Regions from separate parts of the Homo sapiens genome. Here regions 1, 2 and 4 are each linked to region 3. Evidence: promoter capture Hi-C in 16 types of primary human blood cells and fetal thymus (Javierre and others, 2016). All regions are on one chromosome and are shown on one strand. The core of a region is centred on a gene start or on the middle of the fragment in contact, and the rest is flanking DNA. Distances in the headings are between cores, read along the strand shown.

What was found. The method cuts DNA at HindIII sites, captures the fragments that hold promoters and counts their contacts. A CHiCAGO score of 5 or more calls a contact.
Region 1: a contact is called between a fragment that was not itself captured here and the fragment with the promoter of AATBC in region 3, in 10 of 17 cell types (endothelial precursors, erythroblasts, megakaryocytes and 7 more). The highest score is 15.1, in endothelial precursors.
Region 2: a fragment that was not itself captured here is called in contact with the fragment with the promoter of AATBC in region 3 in 5 of 17 cell types (endothelial precursors, erythroblasts, megakaryocytes and 2 more); the score reaches 9.1 in endothelial precursors.
Region 4: a fragment that was not itself captured here is called in contact with the fragment with the promoter of AATBC in region 3 in 1 of 17 cell types (endothelial precursors); the score reaches 6.3 in endothelial precursors.

Annotation. Positions count from the first base shown.
Region 1 is chr21:43,983,154-43,988,824 of GRCh38, reverse strand. AGPAT3 (1-acylglycerol-3-phosphate O-acyltransferase 3) reads right to left here. Exons shown (of 10, transcript NM_020132.5): 10 at 1,233-5,671. Among named protein-coding and RNA genes, the nearest start is that of TRAPPC10, 26 kb to the left of the region's middle. RefSeq lists enhancers at 2,351-2,881, 5,334-5,671 and a silencer at 3,642-3,701. The HindIII fragment of the contact is 4,574 bases long and covers 1,950-5,671 here.
Region 2 is chr21:43,945,369-43,950,638 of GRCh38, reverse strand. All of the region lies in intron 2 of AGPAT3 (1-acylglycerol-3-phosphate O-acyltransferase 3), which reads right to left. LOC105372826 (a long non-coding RNA gene) reads left to right here and starts at 4,125. Exons shown (of 3, transcript XR_001755079.2): 1 at 4,125-4,164; 2 at 4,475-4,580; 3 at 4,886-5,236. The HindIII fragment of the contact is 5,034 bases long and covers 879-5,270 here.
Region 3 is chr21:43,811,317-43,817,269 of GRCh38, reverse strand. AATBC (apoptosis associated transcript in bladder cancer) reads left to right here and starts at 4,703. Exons shown (of 2, transcript NR_026961.1): 1 at 4,703-5,953. It overlaps LOC124905033 (a long non-coding RNA gene), which reads right to left and starts at 4,598. Exons shown (of 2, transcript XR_007067897.1): 1 at 2,275-4,598. The HindIII fragment of the contact is 6,406 bases long and covers 1-5,505 here.
Region 4 is chr21:44,065,904-44,071,917 of GRCh38, reverse strand. The region is part of intron 7 of TRAPPC10 (trafficking protein particle complex subunit 10); the gene reads right to left. Among named protein-coding and RNA genes, the nearest start is that of PWP2, 38 kb to the left of the region's middle. RefSeq lists an enhancer at 4,121-4,663. The HindIII fragment of the contact is 207 bases long and covers 3,470-3,676 here.

The DNA.
Region 1 (5,671 bases), core at 2,987-5,486, 170 kb before region 3:
TTTCTTCATCAAGTTCCTTAGCCCTGGGGGGCCACTTTCTTCAAGAAGGGCTTTTATCTCCATGAACCCTGCTGCTGTGTGAGCCACCTGGACAATTCCGGGTTCTCAGGCACTATGCTCAGAAGAGACGTGAAGAAGGCCAGCTGTGGTGGCTCACGCCTGTATTCCAAGCACTTGGGGAGGCCGAGGCAGGTGGATCACCTGAGGTCAGGAGTTCGAGACCAGCCTGACCAACATGGAGAAACCCTGTCTCTACCAAAAATACATAATTAGCTGGGCATGGTGGCAGGTGCCTGTAATCCCAGCTACTTGGGAGGCTGAAGCAGGAGAATCGCTTGAACCCGGGAAGCAGAGGTTGCGGTGATCCAAGATCACACCATTGTACTCCACAGCCTGGGTGACAGAGCGAAACTCCGTCTCAAAAACAAACAAACAAACAAGAAGAGACATGAAGAGGATGGTTTCCCAAGCCCACTTCCTAACGCTGCCCCTTATTCTTCAGGTGTGCCCGTGTGTGTGCTGGGACGTGTGTACATGTGTGCATGCGTATGGCTATGAAGGTCCCCACACACATGGTGTGTGCATGCATGCACATGTGTACACACTCACATGTCCCAGAATGTCAGGTGGCAGGGACTGACTCCTACGTACTGAGCTTCTGGGTGAAGCGGAGGTGGGATCTGGGCCAATAAAGGCAGGCAATGGGCCTCATGGTTAACCTTGGCCCCTCTCCTGGGTGAGCCAGATGCCTGTGATGCTGGGGGTGATGAAGTCCGAAGGGGTCTGCATGGCTGCCCCCCAGTGCCCGTGAGCACTTGTGTTCAAACAGGCGAAGTGGGGTTCAGGCAAGTCAGTCCCTCTTGTTAGAGGGCAAGGCCTGACCCACCCATGACATCCCCATACCAAGTGGCACCAGGCACTTCACTTTCATCTCCCGAGAAAACAACAGAACATCATGCAAAATTCTGGGTGCTCTGACTTCAGGATATATTTTAAAAAATAAATGGCATCTGGACGCAGGACTTTGAGCCAGGCCTTCCCAGCTTCTCAGGAGCTGGGCTAAGCACCAGCATGGACCTGTCACCCTCACTGATGCCATTAGGGAAGGAGGCAGCCCCGGAGCAGAGAGCATGTCACCAAGGTTGCCAGGGCCATTCCCAGGAGCATGTGGACACCCAGACTCTTCAGCTTAGCTTATTTTTAGAAGACACGAAACGAGAACTCGGAATATCTTTTGGTTCTAACAAGAGTTTTTGTTTTGCTTTTTAATAAAGAAGAGAAAGGGGTTCCTTGGTTTTCTCCACAGATGAATGTTTTTACAAAAAAAGAGTAGTTTTGGATGTATACATGCCACTTAGGAAAACCTTTTGTCCTTGATCGCTTTTAAAACCCTTTTTTGGACATCATCAGGTCATTTTGCGTATTTTTGTGGACTGGCTGATTTCCCCTGTGTTTTTGCCAGGTGACCGCTCTCCTTTTCAATTTCCCCTCCCAGAAAGCAACTCGTAGGGAAGGGAGGGCCTTGAAAAGTGCCATCGGCAGGATGGCCTCCAAGGAAACAGAGCCCGTGGGAGTGGGCTCTGAAGGTGGGTGGCCCCATGGGACAGGAGTGCCTGGTGGCCCTGGTTTCCCCTTGGAGACATCTATGCAGACTGGAAACGAAGAAACAGAAGGAGGCACGGAGTCGCTTTCTCTTATATTGTGGATATTTTATCCCTGTCTTTCACAGCAGCAATTTTAATAAACAGATGCCTGCAGCATTTCACCACTACACAAGAGCTACTCGCGCTCGGGCAGGCGCACACCTGCCTGTGTACACAGGTCCTCGCACAGCACGGCAAACGCAGCCAGGCCTTTGGGACACAGGCCTCTGAAGTGTAAGTTAGCAGCCCTCACCCCGACAAGCTTCTAAAGACCAAAAATACCTCTATCCTCCACTACATAAAGCTTGTGAGTAGCAAAACTTGTAAAAATGAAGTGTACAAAAGGAAACATCCGTATAATACATTTGCACCCTGTATACAATGGGTCCCTTTGAAACTGGCCAACAGTCAGCGATGGCAGATTTTCAATCATAGAAAAAGAAGCCAGTGGCTGTCATGCGCACTCAGGTCAATGGTTTGTGTGGGTTCTCCAGAGAGAGAGATTTTCCTTTACAGTTACAGTACTTGCTGGCGATCTTGCTGATTAAAAGGCCAGTTGAATTTCCTGGCATTTAGGCAAGTAACATTTGATTGTCACAACGTACAATTCTGAGACAATAAATACAAGTAGATCAGATGCATTTCTTCATTGTATCAAGTAACTCCAGTTTAATGTAATACAATTTAGTGCATTTCAGTATCTCATTCACAGTTCGACTTCTGTCCAAATACTTGTGCAACAAAAAGTTAAGAAATGGAGACGAACTCCAGGTGACATTGTCATTACACAGCTTCAAATTCTAAGACAACTCAATGATCTTTGAAAAGCGTACGCTGCTGTTGCCTGGGCCGGCGACACCAATGTCCCTGGTAACTTCCTGGGCTCCCTAAAAGTGTTCCCGTCATTCTATTTCCCGAGCAGTTTGTAAGAATGCCACCATTATCCCTGAATTAACAAGCAGCCAGTGGCGAGTGTTCATGATAAAACTGAATTCATGTGTCCACCCCACTCCAGCAGATCAGTGTGACATCTTTTACGCAAAAATTGTTTTTGCATCCTGGCCCCGATAGGCAGGAATACGGAGCCGGATGTCTGCATCCCCCAGGTCGGCCCCACGGCAGGGGTATGGGGCAGAGCCAGGGCGGAGTCAGGGGTGTGGCCGGCCCCATCCCCCGAGGCCCGAGGGGGCTTGCCTTTGGTTTGGGGACTAGCTCAGTAGAGAAAGGGGCAGGCACACGGCCGGGGACGTGCTGTTTCCAGAAAGAAGGCAGGCAGGCTTTTCGGGCTGGCCGTTTGAACCCTGAGCCTAGGTGCAGTGCAAGGGCTAGAAGCACATCGCGCCGTGGAGCACTAGTATTGCACGCCAGGGGCTGCATGCAGTGAGCCACAGGCCAGAGGCCTGCAGCGGGAGTCTACGCATGGGGCTGAACAAGTCAGGTGAAAATCTGCAGGGCTGGAGAGATTATACTTGGCTTGTTGTAGAAGTGTCTCAGGTAGAGACAAAGCATGCAGAAACTTACTCATTCTTCACCCCAAATCTGACCCCAACCGGTAGTCACAACAGGCATGGACAGCCTGGCAACAGCTACTCAATTGCACGTGAGTGAAACACACAGCTGGGTCCAACCACGGCTTTTCCTTCAAATCAACATCAATGCTCAGCAATACCGCAACGAACAGCGTGAGGAAAGATTCTCATGCCACGGTGCGCGAAAGGGAGTCGGGACAGGCAAGGCAGAGAGACTCAAAATTCATCGACAGGACGTGCTTTTTTTTTTTTTTTACACAAGAAAGTGCTGCTTACATTGTTGTTTTGTGTTATTTAGTGATTTGTTCAGCGCTCATCTCTTCCACCAGACTGCGCTTCCTGAGGACAGGGACCTTAAAGCACCTCACATAGGGTGCGCGTCTGGTACACTGTCGCCGAGTACCAGACAACCAGTGTCTCACACGGGGGAAGACGATGAAGACAGCAATGGCATCCTTGGGAAGATGGGCAGGAGACCCCATGACACCTGGCACCTGGGCCTAAGCTGGGAGGCCAGCGGCGTCCCCAGGAGACCACGGCCCAGGCTGGGAGCTTGACCGGCCAGACGCCCGTGGGTGGGCCTGGGCCCTCCCGCCTGGGAGCCTCCAGTGTGGCGCCTGGCTCTGGGTGGGTAACAGGAGCTACAGGCCAGCAATGCCCTTCCTGTCCTCGGCCTGGCTCAAGGACTGGGTGCAGAGGGCATCAGCGATGCCAGGCCTAGAATGTGCCTCACCCCGACAGTGGCCAGCACGGACTGTGGGCTACAGAGTTGCTTCAGCCTGAGCACTCAGCCTGAATTTGGACATAACATCAACTGAATTAAGCTCAGAAGTAGGGTGTAAAGGAAAAAGAAAAAAAAAAGACTGTTCTGGGATTTATGAATTTAATTTAAAAAATGTAAAGGAGCTCTCCTCCCCTTTTCCTTCTGGATGAAAAGCAAAATCCACCCTCCCCCCCCCAAAAAAAAAAAATTCAAACATTCATGGTGTAGTTTTTATTGCTCTTAAAGACTTGGTGTTGAGAAGCACAAGCTAAGCTGTGAGATGGGAAGGAAACCAGATGAGGTGTGACCCCTGCGCCTGGGCCTCCGTCTCCACTCTAACCTAGGGGCTGCCCAGCTCCGCCATGGCTCAGTGCAGAATTTATACATTATATATTAATTTCAAAGGGAGGGAACTTCTATGGGAAACAATAATAATTAAATCATAAAAGATCTAAATTTGCATTTTCCAGGTCACATATGTGCATGGTCGTACCCTTCAGCTTTTTTCCTTAAAGATTTTGCAGGTGTTAGTGAGTCAGTGAATGGCATGGATCTAAACACACATGGAGACGGATGAGCAGCGTGCGGCATGAGGAAGGTGCAGGAGAATCTCTGGGGTGCTCAGCCAGGGGAGCGCATGCCCTGCCCACGGCACAGCTGCCCGAGTGGGCGGGTGGAGGGATGAGATTTCAGATGGAGGGAAGCACATTTCCAAAACAACAGTGTCTGCAAGCGTGTCTCGCATGGTGTCGTTGGTCTCATCTGGTTTCGTTGGTCTGCCCCTTCACCCCTGCGAGGAGCCGTGCTCTGAGCAGGTGTGCACAGGTGGCGTCCCGCACACGCCCTGAGAGCACGGCCCCCACAGACCCGGGGCCCGGCAGCGCCTCCATCATGCAGAACGCTGCCGTCCCCTCCAATCTCCCCAGGACACTTAGGCCCGATGCCTAATTATGTTCTCGGTTTACTTTTCTTCATGCCTCTTTTCTCCATTTGTTTTCCCCTAGAAAACTCAACCTACCTCTATTCAGAACGCTGGTTTCAAGATATCAGAGATAACACCCATTTTGGTTTTTTTACCTTGCTAAAAAGATGAGGGCGCTGTGACTTAGAACAAGCAAGTCGAAAGCCAAATGCAGGTGGGCTGATGGTACCGCAACCAAGTTGAGCGTTCTACCACTGCCATTGCCCCAGGGGCCCCACCTGGCCATGCCGGGGGAGTGGACATGCTGTAGGGAGAAGCATCCCTCGCTCGGCGTGGGCCAGGGGCTCGCTGCAAGGCCAAGGGAGCCAGCATGACCGGCCGAGCGCTGCCCTCTGCTCTGCCTGGACTCTCAGAGACGTCCAGGAGGTAGGGAGCTGGGCGCTCAGGGGTGGCCGGGCCACAGTGACACCGGCCAGGATGGGGGCGGGCCTTCCCCAAGGACACAGTGCGAGGCTGGGGGGTGGGGGGTGCCCCACCTCTAGTTTCCAGCAGGAAGTTGAAAACCACCAAGAGATCAACCAGTAAAAATAAAATCTCTAGAAGTCAATGAGCTCAGTGTTAACAGTCTCCAACCACCTTTAAAAAACAGAGGGTTGACGGTGCCGTCGCTTCTTCTGAAGCATCCTAGAGTCCCACAGGCTGCCCTGTTCTCCCTCCTTGGCTCCTGATCTGTGGGATGGGGGGGCGCGCGGTAGCCCCGAGGGTCCTCCCTCCCCAGCACCCAGTGTGGAGGGACCAGGATCTGACAGCCATG
Region 2 (5,270 bases), core at 2,146-4,645, 130 kb before region 3:
TCTCTGACATCACGCATGAGGGCACAATGCGGTGACTGTGGCCCACGCTGATCTCGTCCGAATGCTGAGAGAGGGCGGCGTCACAGTTACCACATTATCTGAGAAGTCTGGTAAGCAGCGAAGATACTACTAAGCATTCAACTAAAATTTTAGATGAAACAAACACAATCCTATTTTGAGGTTTAAAGGGCAAATTTCAGTTCTTGGGTAAATTCACTTACAGAGACCACCTTACCTCTTCATAAGCCTGAAAAATATGAAATTGTTGCCAGCCCAACCTTATCAGCATTTGGAATTAGCAGGAGACTAAAAGTCTGGCAGGAGGAGGTGAAACTGTCAGTCTGTGCAGACGATTGTGTAGCCTCAATACCCAGGAGAATCCAAATCTACTACAACAGGAACTAGAGTTGATAGTGATGCTAACAGGAATAATGTACAACATGCAGACTGCAGTGGCCTCCGAATCAGTCAGAAGAGACCAAGACAATCACAGAGTTTATCTCTTGCTCTCTTAATGGCTCTAGGTCACTGGCAGCTCTGTCCCACATGGTCATCTGGGCCCAGGCTCTGGGGGCTCCACCACCTTCAACACGAGGCTTCCAAGACTGCCTGGCTGGTGCCTTTCAGGCAGGTGGGAGAGGGGGAAACTGGAAGTTTAGGGGAAGGGCTGTCCTCTACGGCAAGTAGGATGCAAGTTTGCAGCCCAGCGCAAGTGCTTACAGCTTGGGAGGATATGGATATATGATCCCCTTGTGTGTTCAGGAGCCAAGGAGAGGGGCCCAGCAGACCACCCCTCCACAGGAACACACAAAAGCAGAAGGTGTCTTGAAGGAGAGCGCAGATTGCAATAAGAAAGAGAAAATACCTAAACAAAAGCTTCAGAGGAAATAAAGCCTCTATGAGGAAACCACAGAACATCTTGAAAGATACAAAAGCAGAGCTGAACAAATGGAAAAACCCCGTGTGACCAGGCTGCAACCACCCCTTCCCTGAACACATGCCCTTAGTAACGTGCAGCTCCTCCTGCCAAGACATGGAGTCTACTCCCCACCCTTTTGAACCCAGGTTGACTTCAGGGCTCACCCTATCAATAGAATGTGGTGGGATTGGTGTCACAGGACTTCCAAGACAGTCTTTAGAGCGTTGCCACTCCCTTACACCCTTGTGGCCATCAGAGGTGGTGGCTTGGGCTAGTCTGACAGAAGGTGGTCCCACATGGAGCAGAAATGGACCAGAAATGGGCCATTCCACCTGAGGTTCTCCAGGCAGCTCTAGCTGACGACAGCCACTCCAATGACCCCAGGGGAAACCAGCAGAAGAACCATGTTGCTGAGCCCAACCCAAATTGCTGACCCACAGAATTGAGGGCCCCCCGACATGATGGTTGTTTTAAATTGATACATTTTGAGGTGGTTTGTTAGATAGTAATATGTAAATGATACATAAACCTAAATATATAACTGAATCCTAATTAAAATAGCAAAAGCTCCCCCCCAGCCCCAGAACTAGACATACTGATTCTATAGTTCATATGGAAAACTAAACAGGGAAGAAAAGCCAGGAAAATCATGAAAAAGAACAAGAAAATAGCCCTAAAATACACTACAACATCTAGAAAGCCTCAATAATTAAAACAGCACAGTACCGGCTTATCAGTAGACATGCAGACCAACAATTGAGACTAAAGAGTCAATGCTTCACTGACTAGGAGCAGCTGTCTGGGGCACCTCAGCACCTGGAGCAGGGTGTGGATCTGCAGCCACTGTTTGGGGACTTGGATCCCATGTGCATGAAGCACTGACTACACGTTCGTCAACAACACACATCTCACATGATCCATTCCATTTCTATTGTATTTATATTTCTATTGTATTTAGATACTGATAAAATAAATAAAATACAAAATTAAAACCGCTGCTAGGTTCATGAGAATCTTTTAGCATTGCCTGTTTTCTCAACCAATGGATTTAAAGGCATAATTATATGACATACCTAAAACCACTCCTCCAATTCCGGATAACAGAACCCCGCCTTTTGCAACATGCAAGTCACTGTGAGTTACCTACCTGCCACTACCCCCTTTGCTGGTAACAGAACCTCCTGCTATTATGGCAGCGCTCACCCTTGGATATGGGAGGGAAGCCCAGCCCCAGATCTAAGCCATAAAGGTAATCCCATCCCCTCTTTGAGCAAGTGATCCAGGGATGGGATGGGCATGTGCCCTGGGTCCAGCCAGGGAGAAGTCTGCGGGGGCTTTAAGGGAGGCTTTTGCTTTCCTAAGACAAGAAACAAATACCTCTGGTCATCACCTTTGTCGTTCTTCCCTCCCTCGGTGAGGAGGCAGTGTCTGAAGGTGCAGGAGCCACTGTGGGAGCGTGAAACCATAGGCGTGAGGACAGAAGACCAACACCGTTGGTAGAAGGTGGAAGGTCCCAGATCCCCTTAGGGTCTGGGGAGCAGCTGAGGTCACACCAGCAGCTGCCCTCTTCAAGAGGCGGGGAAGACAAGAGGTAACGGTGTTTAAATCACTATCTCTGTTACCTTTGGCCAAAAACACAGCTTACATCATCAACAGCTATTACTCTTACTCACGTGGGCCTGGCATAGAATACAGATGCTTGATCAATGTTTTCTAAGCGAATGGCTCGTATTCAATATACATTTGTGAGAAACAGCCAGCATAGGCTGGGCACGGTGGCTCATGCCTGTAATCCCAGCACTTTGGGAGGCCAAGGTGGGCAGATCACTTGAGGTCAGGAGCTTGAGACCATCATGGTGATGGTCTCACCAACATGGTGAAACCCCGTCTCTACTAAAAATACAAAAAATTAGCCGGGTGTGGTGGCAGGCGCCTATAATCCCAGCCACTCAGGAGGCTGAGGCAGGAGAATCACTTGAACCCGGGAGGCAGTTTTTTTTGAAACTCTGTCTCAAAAAAAAAAAAAAGAAAAGAAAAGAAACAGCAGCATGGCTTCTTAGTCCACACTGGTTACATGCCACCTCCGTTTACAGTTCCTGAAAGAACAACGTCACTCCTGAAAGAGTCCATGGAGCACTTCAGCAAACAATCTCATCTCAGAATCAAGGCCCCGACAGACACTGGACGGGCCCGAGATGGAAGTGACTTTGGACTCAGTGAAGAGGAGACTGCGACGTTTCCAGGCCTCGCTGGAGATGCCGGGGGCGTCACTCCAGCAGGTAGAGGCCAAACAGAAGCTCCGCTTGGGCAGCCCTGGTCGGCCTCTCTTATGAGACCCACACGGCTGCACGCTCTCCTGACTGCAGCTTTGGGCTGGATCAGTAGCCCCAGGGCCCCCAGGCCACTTCTGAAGAGGGCGAGAAGCTCCCCGCCAGGTACTGTCTCACCGGGAATCGGAACTAAAGACCAGGGTCCTAGAGTTATTTCCCCAAGTTGTGTCTGCCACTGCATCACTGCCAGTGTAAACTGCAAACCCTGGCAGGAAGAGGGCAGGGAGGAGGTGGAGCTGGGCAGGACGAGGGGAGGATGAGGGTGCTGGTGGCCCAGGATGGGAAGGCTGCTGGCCAAGGACCTCCAGCCCCCCACCCTCCCGTCACCTACCCCAGCTCTCTGAGCTCCAGAATTTGTCTCCTCTGGGGTGCTGTGATGGTCTCACTGGCCGGAGAGTGGTGATGTTGGGTGGGAGGTGGAGGGATGTGGAAAGCTCCCAGGGCCTGATGACTGCACAATGGACCTGTGACAAGTCTGCGGGCCTGCAGGACACAGCAGGCGCTTCCCATGCTAGGGCACAGCCATGCACCAGGGCAGAAGAGCATTCTCCAAGGGTGGCAGATTTGTGGGGACCACACTCCAAAACACACACACGCCCATGTACACACACACACATACATGCATGCACACATAAAACAGTCACAGCTAAGTTGACCTAGACATAATTTTCTTACAACGAACTACGCGTTATAATAACTACTTTTACTCTATAGAAACAGATGGATATTTGCTGCATACTTATTCATTAAACTGGTCATCAATGTCTCATGCACTTTTTTTTTTTTTTTTAAGAAGGAGTCTTGTTTTGTCCCCTAGGCTGGAATGCAGTGGCATGACCTCAGCTCACTGCAAACTCTGCCTCCTGGATTCAAGTGATTCTCCTGCCTCAGCCTCCCAAGTAGCTGGGATTACAGGTGCGGGCTACCACGCCTGGCTGATTTTTGTATTTTTAGTAGAGAAGGGATTTTGCCATGTTGGCCAGGCTGATCTCGAACTCTTGACCTCAGGTGACCCACCCACCTCGGCTTCCCAAAGTGCTGGGATTATAGGCGTGAGCCACTGTGCCTGGCCTCATGCACTTTTCATTATATTTTGCAATTTACAAAGTTATGTAGGAGGTGGAATTCTGGTTTCTGCTGGGGATGTACAGAGCTTGTCACTCCCACTCTCACAAGAATAAAGCCAGACAAACCGTAAGTTCTCGACTTTGCTTCATCCCATCAGAGACCTGAGGCTGCAGGACAACCAACTGGAAGCTGGGGAGAGACAGGGCCTGCAGGGGAATGGCATTGAGCCCTCCCGTCCCTGGGGCAGTCACGGGGCATCGTTGGTAAGAGGAGCTTGGCTGGAACCCCTGAGTCCTGGTGGAGGCTGAGTGTGTCTGGGCAGAGAGGGGAGTCCTGCGGGGACAAGGTGGAGGGCCCACCACCCTCCTGCTGGCTTCTCCTCGTGACCCCTGTCCAGCCCCCACCAGGTGCCCACAGGGCTGCCTGGGGATGAGTTCTGACAAAGCCACGCTCCTGTGCAAGCATGAGATGATGTAGGCATTCCACAATGTTCTAAACAAAGAGTGCCTGGACCTTAAAGGTGTACTCATTATTTACCGATTGAAATGCCACATCTGTCATTCTACAGGCACCCTGAGGCACGGACTTGAAAAAATGCATTGATTCAAGATGGAATAAACCGAGTAGGTTTCAGAACAGCCACCCTTGGCCTGGACAGTGCAAGAGCTGCAGAGTGTCACCTCACAGGGCCAGCGGCGACCCAAGACACGGGTGCCTGGAAAGGGGGCTCTCTGCGGGGACAGGGCTCAGAAAGGCTGGACCTGTCCTGAACCACAGAAACAGGGTTCCCTGAACCTCGGCCATCGTCTACCATTACGGCGCCCTGTCCAGATATAAAGTCAGAAAATCTCAGATGCACAAACATTTTGAAGTAAAAGATAGTTTCTAAACCATTACTCAAACCAATAAAACGTGAAGTGAAATGAAATGTGTAATGTGAATGAAAATGCTCC
Region 3 (5,953 bases), core at 3,454-5,953:
CACTGACCCTCACAGCCCAGAGGAGGCCTTTGTGTGGGAGGAGCTGCCCTGAGCTGCCTTCGAGCCTCGAAAGGTGTCACCCTCTGGGGCGTCAGACCACAGGCAGCCCCAAGTGTGCTAAATGTGCTTCCCTGGCCCCTCCAGCATCCTCCCTGTGGTCTGTCCTGCCACGCCTGCCTGCTGGTTCCGGCCGGGTGACAGTGGGCACCTGCTGAGCGGGTCTCTGCAGCCACCCTGCACGGCGAACGGCCCGGCCAGTTGAGGTCTCCAGTGGCCTCGCTGTGACCTCAGAACCAGGGACTGGGTCACAGGTCAGGTTGCACCTCCTCGACCCACACAAGGCGGCCACCTGCCCCAAGCCAAGTGTGCCCAGACCTCCGTCCTGAGCTCAGCCTGCAGCAGATGGCGCTCTCTGCTGCCCCCCTTCTTTCCTTGGCCACCCCAACCATGGTCCCCCAGGCTTTGCCTCGTTTGGTGCCCTCAGCCCTCCTCCTAGGCTGGGCCTCCTGCAGGCCATGCAGGAGAGGCCTCTTGTCCACCTGTGCCCTGCAGAGGCACCCCCCACCAGCCCCACAGAGCTGCCGTCCCTGCTGGGGCTGTGGCCAGCTCCGGGGGCACACCCCTCGTGGACAGAGGCTGTCTGGGGCCAGGGGGGTTGGGGAGGGGTGGAGGGGAGGTGGCTGATGGGTCAGTCCCTCCAGCCTGGGTCTGGGAGAACCCACAGCAGGCTTTGTGGGGTGCCTGGTTGCCTCTCACAGGGAAAGTGTCAGAGGGGCAGTTGGGGGTGACTTCCTGGTCAGGGGGAGAGTGGCAGGAGGGCCTATGTCCAGGAGGGGCTATGTCATCCCCTAGCACCTGCTGGGCGGTAGGGACAGGTTTTCTGGCCCCACAAGGGCCACACGCCCAAGGCCAGGACCTGACCTGGGGCCAAATCTCCCCAGTAGCTCCTGTGTCCGTTCACCACCTGGCTGAGCTGGGCTGTGCCCTGGTGGTGGCTGAGGGTCCTGGAGGCGGAAGTGCACAGGGCACAGCAGCTCACCCAGAGATCAGGCCCCGTTAACCCTCAGCAGGAGAGGGAGGCAGGGGCCGGGGCTGCTCCACCCAAAATGCCACCCAAGTGCGGCACGGCCCAGGGTGCGGAAGGGACCTGGTGACCAAGGCCGGCATGTGCCCAGGGTGCGGAGGGGACCAGGTGACCAGGGCCAGCGCGTGAGAATAACATGTGTGACCGACACAGGCAGCTGGAGACAGGAAACGCACAGGGGGTCGGTGTCCCTCAGACAGCAGAGACTGTCACGGGCCGAACTGTGTCCCTCAGACAGCAAGGGACTGTCACGGGCCAAACTGTGTCCCTCAAAAATCCGAACGTGGGAGTCTTAACTCCCCCAGGATCCCAGCTGTGACTGTATTTGGAGGTAGGGTCTTAAGAGAGGAGATTAGATTAAAATTAGATTGTAAATCAGCAAATTGTATCTTAAATATATGATCTTTAAGTGTCACAAATACCTTAATTAAAAAAAAATAATTGAGAAGCCAGAACATGAAAAGTTTTTTAAGTTAAAATAAGGCTATTTGGGTGGACCCCACCCAACCTACCTGTGTTTTTATAAGAGGCAATGAGGACACAGACACACAGGAAAACGGCCCTGTGAGGACACGGGGAGGAGGCGCCAGGTGCCAGCCCAGGAGAGAGGCCTCAGGAGCCAGCCCCACTGCACCCTGGCCTCGGGCCCCAGCCTCCGGGACTGTGGGAGAATCTATGTGGGTTGCTGAAGCCCCAGCCTGTGGTCCTTTGTCACGGCCACCAGAGCAGACTCACACAGCGGCCTCAAAGGATGGGGCCACTTGTTCTCCCCGCCGCCCCCCTGCCCCGCCCACCCCCCTTTCCCCTGCAGCCACGCCCCCTCACCGGCCGCCTCCCGCCCCGCCCACCCACCTTTCCCCTGCAGCCACGCCCTCTCACCGGTCGCCTCCCGCCCCGCCCACCCACCTTTCCCCTGCAGCCACGCCCTCTCACCGGTCGCCCCCCCTCCCCCCCGCCCACCCCCCTTTCCCCTGCTGCCACGCCCTCTCACCGGTCTACACACCCGTGCACCCCTGCAGGGCCTTGGCACTGGCTACTCCTGCCGCCAACCCCACTCTGCCCCAAATATCCACTTGGCTCCCGGCTTTGCCTCTGTCAAATATTTGCCCAAAGAAGCCCTCCCCTGACCGCACACTCGCCCTCCACACGGCCAACCCTTCACCTTGCTCTATCTTCTCCACTGCACTTACTGGGGGCTTCAGGTAGTCTTCCTGCTTCCTTCCTTCCTCCCTCCAAAACAGAGGCTGAGCCCGGCTGTTGCGGACCCTTGCCTGAGGCGAGAGGCAGGAGTAGGACATCATGTGCCAGGCGCAGTGGCTCACACCTCACGAACATTCACCTTGAACAAACCTCATCAAGGTTTTCCCCACATCTCAATGGAAGGGCAGCCCACGGCTGATTGACGGGTTGGAGGGGTGCCCAAAAGACAACCTTCCTGCCCCAGCCAGCCCAACTCCAGGTGCTCCAGGGCTCCCAGTGGGACCAGGCTGTCTCCAGCCAAGCCGACCTCCTGGCCTGGCTCCCTCCCTCTCCGCAGAGTGCCATGATCACCCCACACAGGCCCCAGCACCTCTGACCTAAACCCCAAGGGCCAGAATACGGTGTCACCACCCACCCAACCTGACCCAGGCCGAGGGAGCTGGGAGCAGAAATTCAGGATGCGGAGGTGAGGGGAGCAGAGGCTGGATTCAATTCAGCCGAATTCCAATTGGGAGAAAAGTGAACTCCACCCGGGCTTGCCTGGAAGCCCGTTTCCTTGGGAACCGCAGGGCTGAGAAACAGCCTGGCCAGGGAAAAGGCAGCTCCTGGCGGGCAGCCTGGGGCAGCCATGGGTGTGCAGACCTCGGCCCCTGTGAGCAGCGGAGAGAAAAGGACAGGTGGCACTGGGCTGTGGCTTCTCCGTGTCCAGGAGACCCGAACGGCTCAGAGCCTTCAGGCAAGAGTAGGACATTATGGGTCGGGCGCAGTGGCTCACGCCTGTAGTCCCAGCACTTTGGGAGGCCAAGGCGGGCAGATCATGAGGTCAGGAGTTGGAGACCAGCCTGGCCAACGTGGTGAAACCGTCTCTACTAAAAATATAAAAATTAGCTGGGCATGGTGGCGTGTGCCTGTAATCCCAGCTACTCAGGAGGCTGAGGCAGGAGAATCGCTTGAACCCAGGAGGTGGAGGTTGCAGTGAGCCGAGATCATGCCATTGCACTCCAGCCTGGGCGACAGAGCGAGACTCTCTCTCTCAAAAAAAAAAAAAAAAAGTAGGACACTGTTGTCTGTCCAAGGGAGGGACAGACCCCAGGGCAAGTGGCACAAAGCAGACAGGGTGCCAGGAGGTGCCCAAGGGGTGCCAGGGGCAGGGTGAGGACCTGGTGCTCAGACTCAAAACCTACACTCAGGCTAGCTCCCAGTCGGCCAGCCCAGGAGTCACCCAGGCACACCCTAGGGGAGGGGACGGGGCTGCCTGCTGCCTGAGCCCTTCACTCCCCCGGGGAATGGGACCTGTGCCCCACAGCCTAGGGACAGGGCCACTGGCCTTAGGACAGACCAGGCAGCAGACAGGCCACGGCACCATAAGCCCTATACTCATTCCCCGGCACCACCTGCTCCTGGCCAGGCCCCACACTTGGTCTGGCCTGACCCTGCCCTCAAGTGCCCTGAGGGTGACATGGGGGGCCCAGGGGCTGCTGGGGATGAGGATGAAGCCTGACTGTGAGGCGGGGCAGACTGGGCGGGGGCCTGGGCCTCGCTGGGTCACCTGGGATGTAGGTCAAGGCAAGGAGGGAGGACCTGGAACGCCCCTCCCCTGCCCCTGCCTGGCTCCCCAATGCCCTGGCCATGGGAATCAGGTACTGTGGCACCAGGTGGATGGTCTGGGTGTCCAGGGAGTCTGGGGCCACTTTTGGAATCTGCCAGCCCCTGCCACGTACCAGCGTTTTCGAATCCTCTCACTCTCCGCCAAATCACCCAGAGCAGTTTTCCAGGGACAGGAGAGGGAAGGAGCTGCCCATTGCGCTGCCCCTGGCTCAAGCTCTGAGAGGGGCGTAGGGCTGGGGACAGCGGCCAGGACTCCGGGGCTGTGGGGGCGGGTTCTGGGTGCGTCATGGGGTGCGCCCTGCTGTGCCTGCCCGAGTGCGGGGCCTGACCTGACCAGGTGAGCCCTTCTCTGAGGAAGCTGATGAGGGAGAATTTCTCCTGCTGGCACTGAAGAAGCAAAGTGTGTGGGGGGGGGAGCCTCGGGGAAGGGGGCTGTGGGCACCTCCAGGATCTGAGGGAACCCCAGGAATAGCCCGTGAGAGAAACGGGAGGCCTACAGCCAAGAGTGCATCCTCTAGAAGACAAGGAAGAAAGAAGAATGCACCCTCCCAACAGCCAGGGAGTGTGCGAGAGGCCCAGCCTCCAGTGCCTGGCAGCTTCAGCACCCACTTCAGCCAGGGAGCCCTGGGCAGGCCCAGCCATGCCTCCCAAACCCTCGTCTACGGCTGGGCGCTGACATGCAGTGGTGGTGAAGTCACCAAGTTCAAGGTAATTTGTTGCACAGCACGGGTACTTAATGCAGGAGGGACTCGATAAACATTTAGGCAGGAAAAGAAAGAAGAACAAAGGAGGGAGGGAGGAGCCACCAGGAAGGAAGGAGGGTGACTGCAGAGACCGGCCCTGGGCAGCGGTACCAGGGGCACAGGGAGCCTGGCCCGGCCCATTGTCACTGGAATTCATGCCATGCAGACTTCTACATCAAAGGGAAACAAGGTCAGGAGGGCCGAGGGGTCCACGGCACTCCGCACCCACGGGGCCAGGCTGGCACAACGCCCCAACGCTGCAATCCTGGGAAGAGTCACACGCGCCCTCCCGGGACCCACGTGACCATCAAGGGAGTGTGGAGGACACATCCCTCGGGGGTGACGCCCCTGCAGATGGAGTTTCCCCATCTGTGCCACCCTTGCAAGGCCTGGGAAAGGCTGCGGGGCCAGGCGGCACCGGGCAAGCTGAGTGCCAGGTGGTGGTTGCAACACACCGGGCAAATCTGAAACCATGGGACGGACGAGCTGCACCCCTGGGAAAGAGAACAGAGGAAGGCCGGTTATCAACGTCCTCCTGTGCCTCAGTTTCCAGAAACAAGCCAGACTCAGTGCCTCAGGGAGACCCCGTGTGGCCTCCGGAGAGCACGGGACCCGCCCTTTGTGCAGGTGAGGAAACTGAACCCCAGAGCAGTGAGGGACTGGCCTGGGGACCCTGGGCTCAGCCCTGGGCGCCTTCCCTCTGCCCATCTCAGACGGGCACAGCCAGCACCGCCTCACCCCAACGCGCCTCCAGACTGGCCCTCCAGGGGCCCCCAGGCACAATCCTCTCACTTTCTTCCTCAAGCCCCTGCCTTCCCCCTTCGCACTGTGACCCAGGGGCTGCTAGCAGCTGGGCTGGGCTCCAAAGCTTGAAGCTGCTTCTCCAGGTCTCTTTCCAGGGGGCGGCGGATGGCTGCTCACTCAGGGACGCCAACACCAACAGGAAGGGACCCATGCACGGATCTGACTTCCCTCCCAGGCTCTGCCTTCACTCAATGTCCCTGTGGGGCAGCTGGGGCTCCCGGCCGCCCTCCCCTGCCCACAGCCGTGAGGTTGCTTCCTAGGGTTCTGTTTTCCCCACAGTCGGAACTGAGGTGCTGGGAGGCTCCAGAAGAGGGATGGGGTGGAGCAAGTGGCCTGGAGCCCCCCAGGGCAGACCCCAAAGAGAAGGGTCAGAAGTGCCCTCTGGGGCCTGGGCAGCTGGGGGGAGCCCACAAGCCTGAGACCCTGTGGGAGGGAAGCGCCCCCACCCCGTGGTAAGAAAGGGGCTGGTAGAGGCTCCTATGTGGCTCCCTCTGTCCCCTCCCGACCTCTGGCC
Region 4 (6,014 bases), core at 2,324-4,823, 260 kb before region 3:
AACAAGGGCAGGCTTTCACTGAATAACAGAAACCTGAAGGTGAGCTCGGCCACCCCTCCCTCTGGAACTCACACCTCCCAAAGTGCAAAGCCTCCCCCGGGCCTGCTCTGGTCTCCGCTGCGAGTTCTCACCGGCTCCATGCTCTAAGTGCCTTTATTTCCCAGGAGAATCACAGCTCCCTGTATTTCCTATCACAGATCATTTTAAAATTTCAGTTTTTATGGGGAAAAAAAGACATGCATGTGAATTTGGCATATGATGTGGCATACACAACCCTTTCTGCAGTGCCGCCTTGCAGAGCCGCCTGCCTCGTATGTTACTACTTACTGTGTGTGTCTCTTAGCTCCCACCCAAACCCCAGGTAACACCCCAAAGGGGGCCGAGCACTCTGCTTCTTCTCTATACTTTAGAGGGCCTGAAAGAGGTGGGCTCCACAGCAGCGAGACCTTCCACAGTAAGACATCTAAGACTTCCAGACATGTTAACGAAACAAATTTATTTAAAACCTAATTGCAGTGATACTTTTTCATTGCTTTGAAAAAACAAGTGGCAAAATGCATACAACAAGGTATGTGAAGGGCACAAACCCTAAATTTAGAGGTCGATGATTTTTACAAATGTAACCACCACCTAATCAAGAAATAAAATTATCCTAGAAGGTTCTCTCAAGTCCCTTTTCCCGGTCAAGATCCACCCCAAAGAGGCACCCGGCTCCTGACTTCGGCCACCATCAATTCCTTCTGGCTGATTTGTGAACTTCATATAATGAAATCACACAGCATGTCCTCCTTTGTGCATGGGGCTTCTTTAATTCCACACAGTATCTTTAAGATTCAACCTTGCTGAGTCTGTCGGCCTGTTCTTTTTCACTGCTGCTTATTAAACCTTTCTACAAGTTGGCCACAGTTTATTTATCCACTCCTATCAAGTGTCTGGGTTGTTTCCAGTGTTTGGCTACTATGGGTAAAGCTATTTGCAATGTTACCCCTGCCTCAACGGAGGGATGACTTCTCAGGGTCCGAAGACGCCCCCAGGCCCAAGTGCGCCAGGCTACTCACAGCAGAACACAGGCAGTGCCAGCACTCTTCTCCCACCAGCATCCCTGCAGCAGAGACGCAAGAGCTCGGGGGAAGGGGACAGAGAGTGCCAGAGCCACCCTGGCTTATTTTACCCATTAGAGTGCAGCTTGAGAATAAAAAACAAGAGTCTCACAAACTCTGGAAAAGAGCAATTGTTCTGCAGCCATGGCTTCATGGCTTTGAGTCGTCCAAACAAATGTCAGCCCCTTGCTCCTAAATGGTGGCCGACACAGAAAATGGGCACCTCAGCCAACAGCACGAAGGCCATGCCTCTATGGTGGCATCTGCCACCCAGCATGCCACAGCACCCAACACAACAAAGACCAAGCCTCCGCTCTGCCCTGAGAGCCTGAGACTGAATGGCAGAGCGTGCAGCTTGGTCACCTCACTCTGGAACCGGGTGGTGGCCTCACCGTCTCCAGAAAACTCACATTTCCCTAATGGGCCATCAGATACCTCTTGGCCATCTGGATATCATCTTTTGTGAATAACAGACTTCTTAAACAAATTCTTAATTTATATTAATTTTCCTTAAAGTCCCTCCTCCTCTCCTGATTGCTGTATTAGCAATGGCAAGTGCCATCTTGCCACTTCCAAGTATAAAATTAAAGGCATTCTTGTTCTTCTCTCTTTTGATACCCCTACCACTTGAGTGCAACCCACACACTGGAAGGTACATGAGTCCTAGGTGAACGCCTGCTATGCCTCCCGTGAAGGCAGCTCCCGCTGGAACTCCCTGCCAGTCACCAGCCCCTCCACCTGCCAGAGAGCTCACAGCAGACTGGTGTAGCTTCACCGTGAACTTCAGACACAAGGAATCAAAAAGTATGCCCTCTCTTATCGCTTCAACCCGGGAGGCAGAGGTTGCAGTGAGCCAAGATCACGCCACTGCACTCCAGCCTGGGAAACAGAGCAAGACTCCATCTCAGAAAAAAAAAAAAAGTATGCCTTCTCTTGTGTCTAACTTCTTTAGCTCAACTTCAGGTTGGTTAGAGTCATCCACTACGACCCATTCACGTTCATCACTGTACCCTAGCACACTACAGGGCCACGGTGCAACGTTGTCATCCCTTGGACAAGATGAACATTTGAGTTCTTCCCCGTTTGCAGCTCCAATGACTCACGGGTGCCACAGGTATCTCTGTGTACTTGCCTTCTGATGCATGTGTGTGTGCATGTATCTGTACACACCAGGGGTGGATGTGCTGGGTCACGGGGCATGTGTTGTAATGGCGATACCCATTAGATATCGCAAACAGCCTTCCAAAGTGGTCCCAGTGATGCACACTACCATCAGTGAATGAGCGCCAGCATCTCCACCCTCCCACTGATACCCGAGGAAAGCCTTTCCATCCTGGCCATTCTGGTGGTGTGTGCTGGTACTTCATTAATAATGGCTTCAGTTTGCATTTTGCTATGATTCATGAGACTGAGCCCCTTTTCATGTTTATCGGCCATTTGGATTTCCTCTCTTGCCTGTTTTTCTACTGGTTTGTCAGTCTTTCTGCATTGATGTATGTGAGTTCTTCACAGTACGCCCTGGAGTAAGGGCCCTTTCTTGTCTATATATACTGGTTGTACTCTTCCAAGCTGCGGAGGGCCTTTTCACTCCCTTCAGAGTACCTTTCAGTGAAGAGAAGCACTGATGTTTACGTAGTCTAATGCAGGACCCTCTTCCTTCACGGCTGGTGCATAACCATAAAGGTTTCATGTCCTATTTAAGGAATATTTGCCAACCTTAAGGTCCCAAAGACATTTTCCCAAGTTATCTTCAAGAGTTTTCTTATTTTATTTTTCATGTTTAGATCAAAACTCCACCTGGAATTAATTTTGTTTATGGGGTGAGATCAAGATTTGTTTTTATATATGGATATCCAGTGGACCCAGAACCATCAATTCACTAAATTTTTCTTGAACCTATTTATTTAAAATCTGCCGGCTGGGTGCAATAGCTCACGCCTGTAATCCTGGCACTTCGGGAGGCTGAGGAGGGTAGATCACTTGCGCTCAGGAGTTCAAGACCAGCCTGGGCAACATAGTGAAACCCCATCTCTGCCAAAAAATACAAAAATTAGCCGGGCATGGTGGTGCGCACCTGTAATCCTGGCTACTTGACTGGCTGAGGCAGGAGAATTGCCTGAACCCTGGAGGCGGAGGCTACAATGAGCCAAGATCACACCACTGTACTCCAGCCTGGGCAACAGAGTGTTTCAAATAATAATAATAAAAAATAAAATCTACCTCAACTGCCTTTTGGAACTCCGTCTTTTCCCTTGGACTATGGCAGAAGTTTCCAAACTCTTCACCTCTCTCTGCCTCTCTCTGCCCTCTGCCTCACTAGGTCCTAACCTTTCATGGCTCCCTACTGGCTACAGAACAAAGGGCAAGCTTCAACGTGACACACAAAGAACTTCAGAATTTCCCTTCATTGCCCCCAAAGCCTGCCTCACCCCTGAAGTTCTAGCAAGACCAGGCTCCTCCAGAGCACCTTCAATAACACCATCTTCTCCACCTGAAACGCACTCTCCCGCGCCACCAGCAGTCACATCTACCTGGTGAGTTCTTACTCCCCCTACTCATTCCTTAGCACGTAAGCTTCATAAGGCCAGGAATTCTATTTCACTCTCTGCTGAAAATACAGTGCCTACCACAATGGTTGGCACAAAACAGAAGCTCAATGAAGATCTGATAAGTGAATGAGTCCTTTTTTTTTTTTTTTTGAGACGGAGTCTCACTCTTTTGCCCAGTTGGAGTGCAGTGGCATGATCTCGGCTCACTGCAACCTCTGCCTCCCAGGTTCAAGCAATTCTCCCGCCCCAGCCTCCCGAGTAGCTGGGATTACAGGCGCCTGCCATCACGCCCAGCTAATTTTTGTATTTTTAGTAGAGACAGGGTTTCACCATATTGGCCAGGCTGGTCTGGAACTCCTGACCTCATGATCCGCCCACCTCGACCTCCCAAAGTGCCAGGATTACAGGCTTGAGCCACTGTGCCCAGCCTGAATGAATCTTTTTAATGGAGTTCACATAGGGCCTCCTCTAGAAAGCTTCCCTAGCACCTATCAGGCACCTGCAAATGTTTACCAAGCTGACCTGAGGCATCCGGCAAAGCTGCCTTTCCCTCCCTTACAGTCCCCTGTGTGCAGACAACACTTCGTCACTACTTGGACACTGTGCTGATGACCCGTGGCACCTCATGCCGGTAGGTGGGGCCCTTTCCTCTTCATTTATGTGCACCCCCATCCCTGTCTCCCACAGTGCCTGGCAGGCAAGGAAACGTTTCTTGAATGATTCTTGACAGTCCTCTCTTTCCTTTTGTCCAGTGAGCCATCAGTTCTTCTTCAGCAACAGCTCTCACAACCACCCCTCCTCCTTCAATCCAGCTCCTCCCCCTCATGGCTCATGGGTGCACAAGATCCTCCACCTACACATGAGAGCACCCACCCAGCAGGGTGTCGGGTACACTGTAAGCCCTCAGCAAACACAATCTACATTCCCACACTACATCTCTGCCTTTGTCCTCTGCCAGGCCTGCACCTCAGAATACCGATCCCAGCTGGCCAGCTTTGACTGTAAACCTTCTTCTTCCTCTGGTTCAACCTGCAGGTTGGCCACACACAGCCTCTGTTCACAAACCGGCCAGCTAACTCCGACGGCGTCCCATGCACGGTTCCTCCGTGCCACAGGCTAGGCTGGTGACTCCCCTGGGGTCTGGAGGAGTCCTGACCCTGCTAGGCCCACACGGTCTGTTACATAACCAGCAGCTAAGGTGATAAAAGGTCAAACGCTGAATGAAACACATTCCAAACCCCCCCAAAAAATCACTTGGGCAATCATTGTAACAAACACATTATGGCCTTCAAGAAAGTATCTTCCCCGTTCTTCTAATTTGGCGACAAAATATATAAGTATCATACTTTTTTCTTACCAAAGGTGCAGGAAAACAGGCATCACTAGCATGACTGAAAATGGGAAGACCTTTCTGGAGGACAAATTAACAACATATAGCTTTAAAAACATGTCTATCTTCGACCTTCCAATTCTACTTGTATGAATTTACACACAAAGATGTATGTATAAGGATACAAACTGCTGCAATTGCAAAGAATTTTGAAGAATTCAAATGTCCAAATAGGAGCAAGGAAATAACTGCAGTTCATCTATACATAAGAAGGCCATGGACAAAAAAAGGGAACCTCTTCCTGCTAGCAAAAGCAACGACATTTTCTTCGTATATTTGTCTGTTATTTTCCAAATTTACATAAAGAAAACATTCAACTTTTGTAAATGGAGGGAAAATTAGAAATTGTTACAGAAAAAAAAAGGAAATACTCTGTCAAGGAGGATCCTGAACTCACGCAGAACTGGCCTCACTTCACGGGTGTTACCGCTCACCCCAGCAGCCAGCTGTGCAAGGTAGGCACAATCTCCATTCTTAACACATTTTCCATTAAGGGAGTGCGCAAGGCTAGTAAGCAGCACCCACAGGGCAGAGGCCTCTATCCGGCCGTCTTGCTCCCCTCCTCAGCCCCCGTCGCCCCTGGAGTGTGGATCAAGCCCTACTACAGAGCAGGGCTAGTTTCCATCACAGCTGGCCACTTCGTTGCCTCCTATTCTCTTTAAATAAATGAGGTACTTCAAATCAACTGGTAAAGCAACCAGGATGTTAGCAGGACATGTTTTATAAGCCACCCACTCGAAAGTGGGACAGTGGGATCTGCAACTGACAGTGGCACACCTACCCCCTGGCCTCTGCTCAACTGTAGCCCTAAAACCTGACTCTCACCAAAAAATCCTAACAACTAGACTGGAGTAAAAACTACTGCACAAGAGAGAAAAACACAGCCACGGGCAGCTCAGACCTGTAATCCCAGCACTTTGGGAGGGGAGCAGGGAAGATCACTTGAGCCCGGAAGTTCCAGACCAGCCTGGGCGA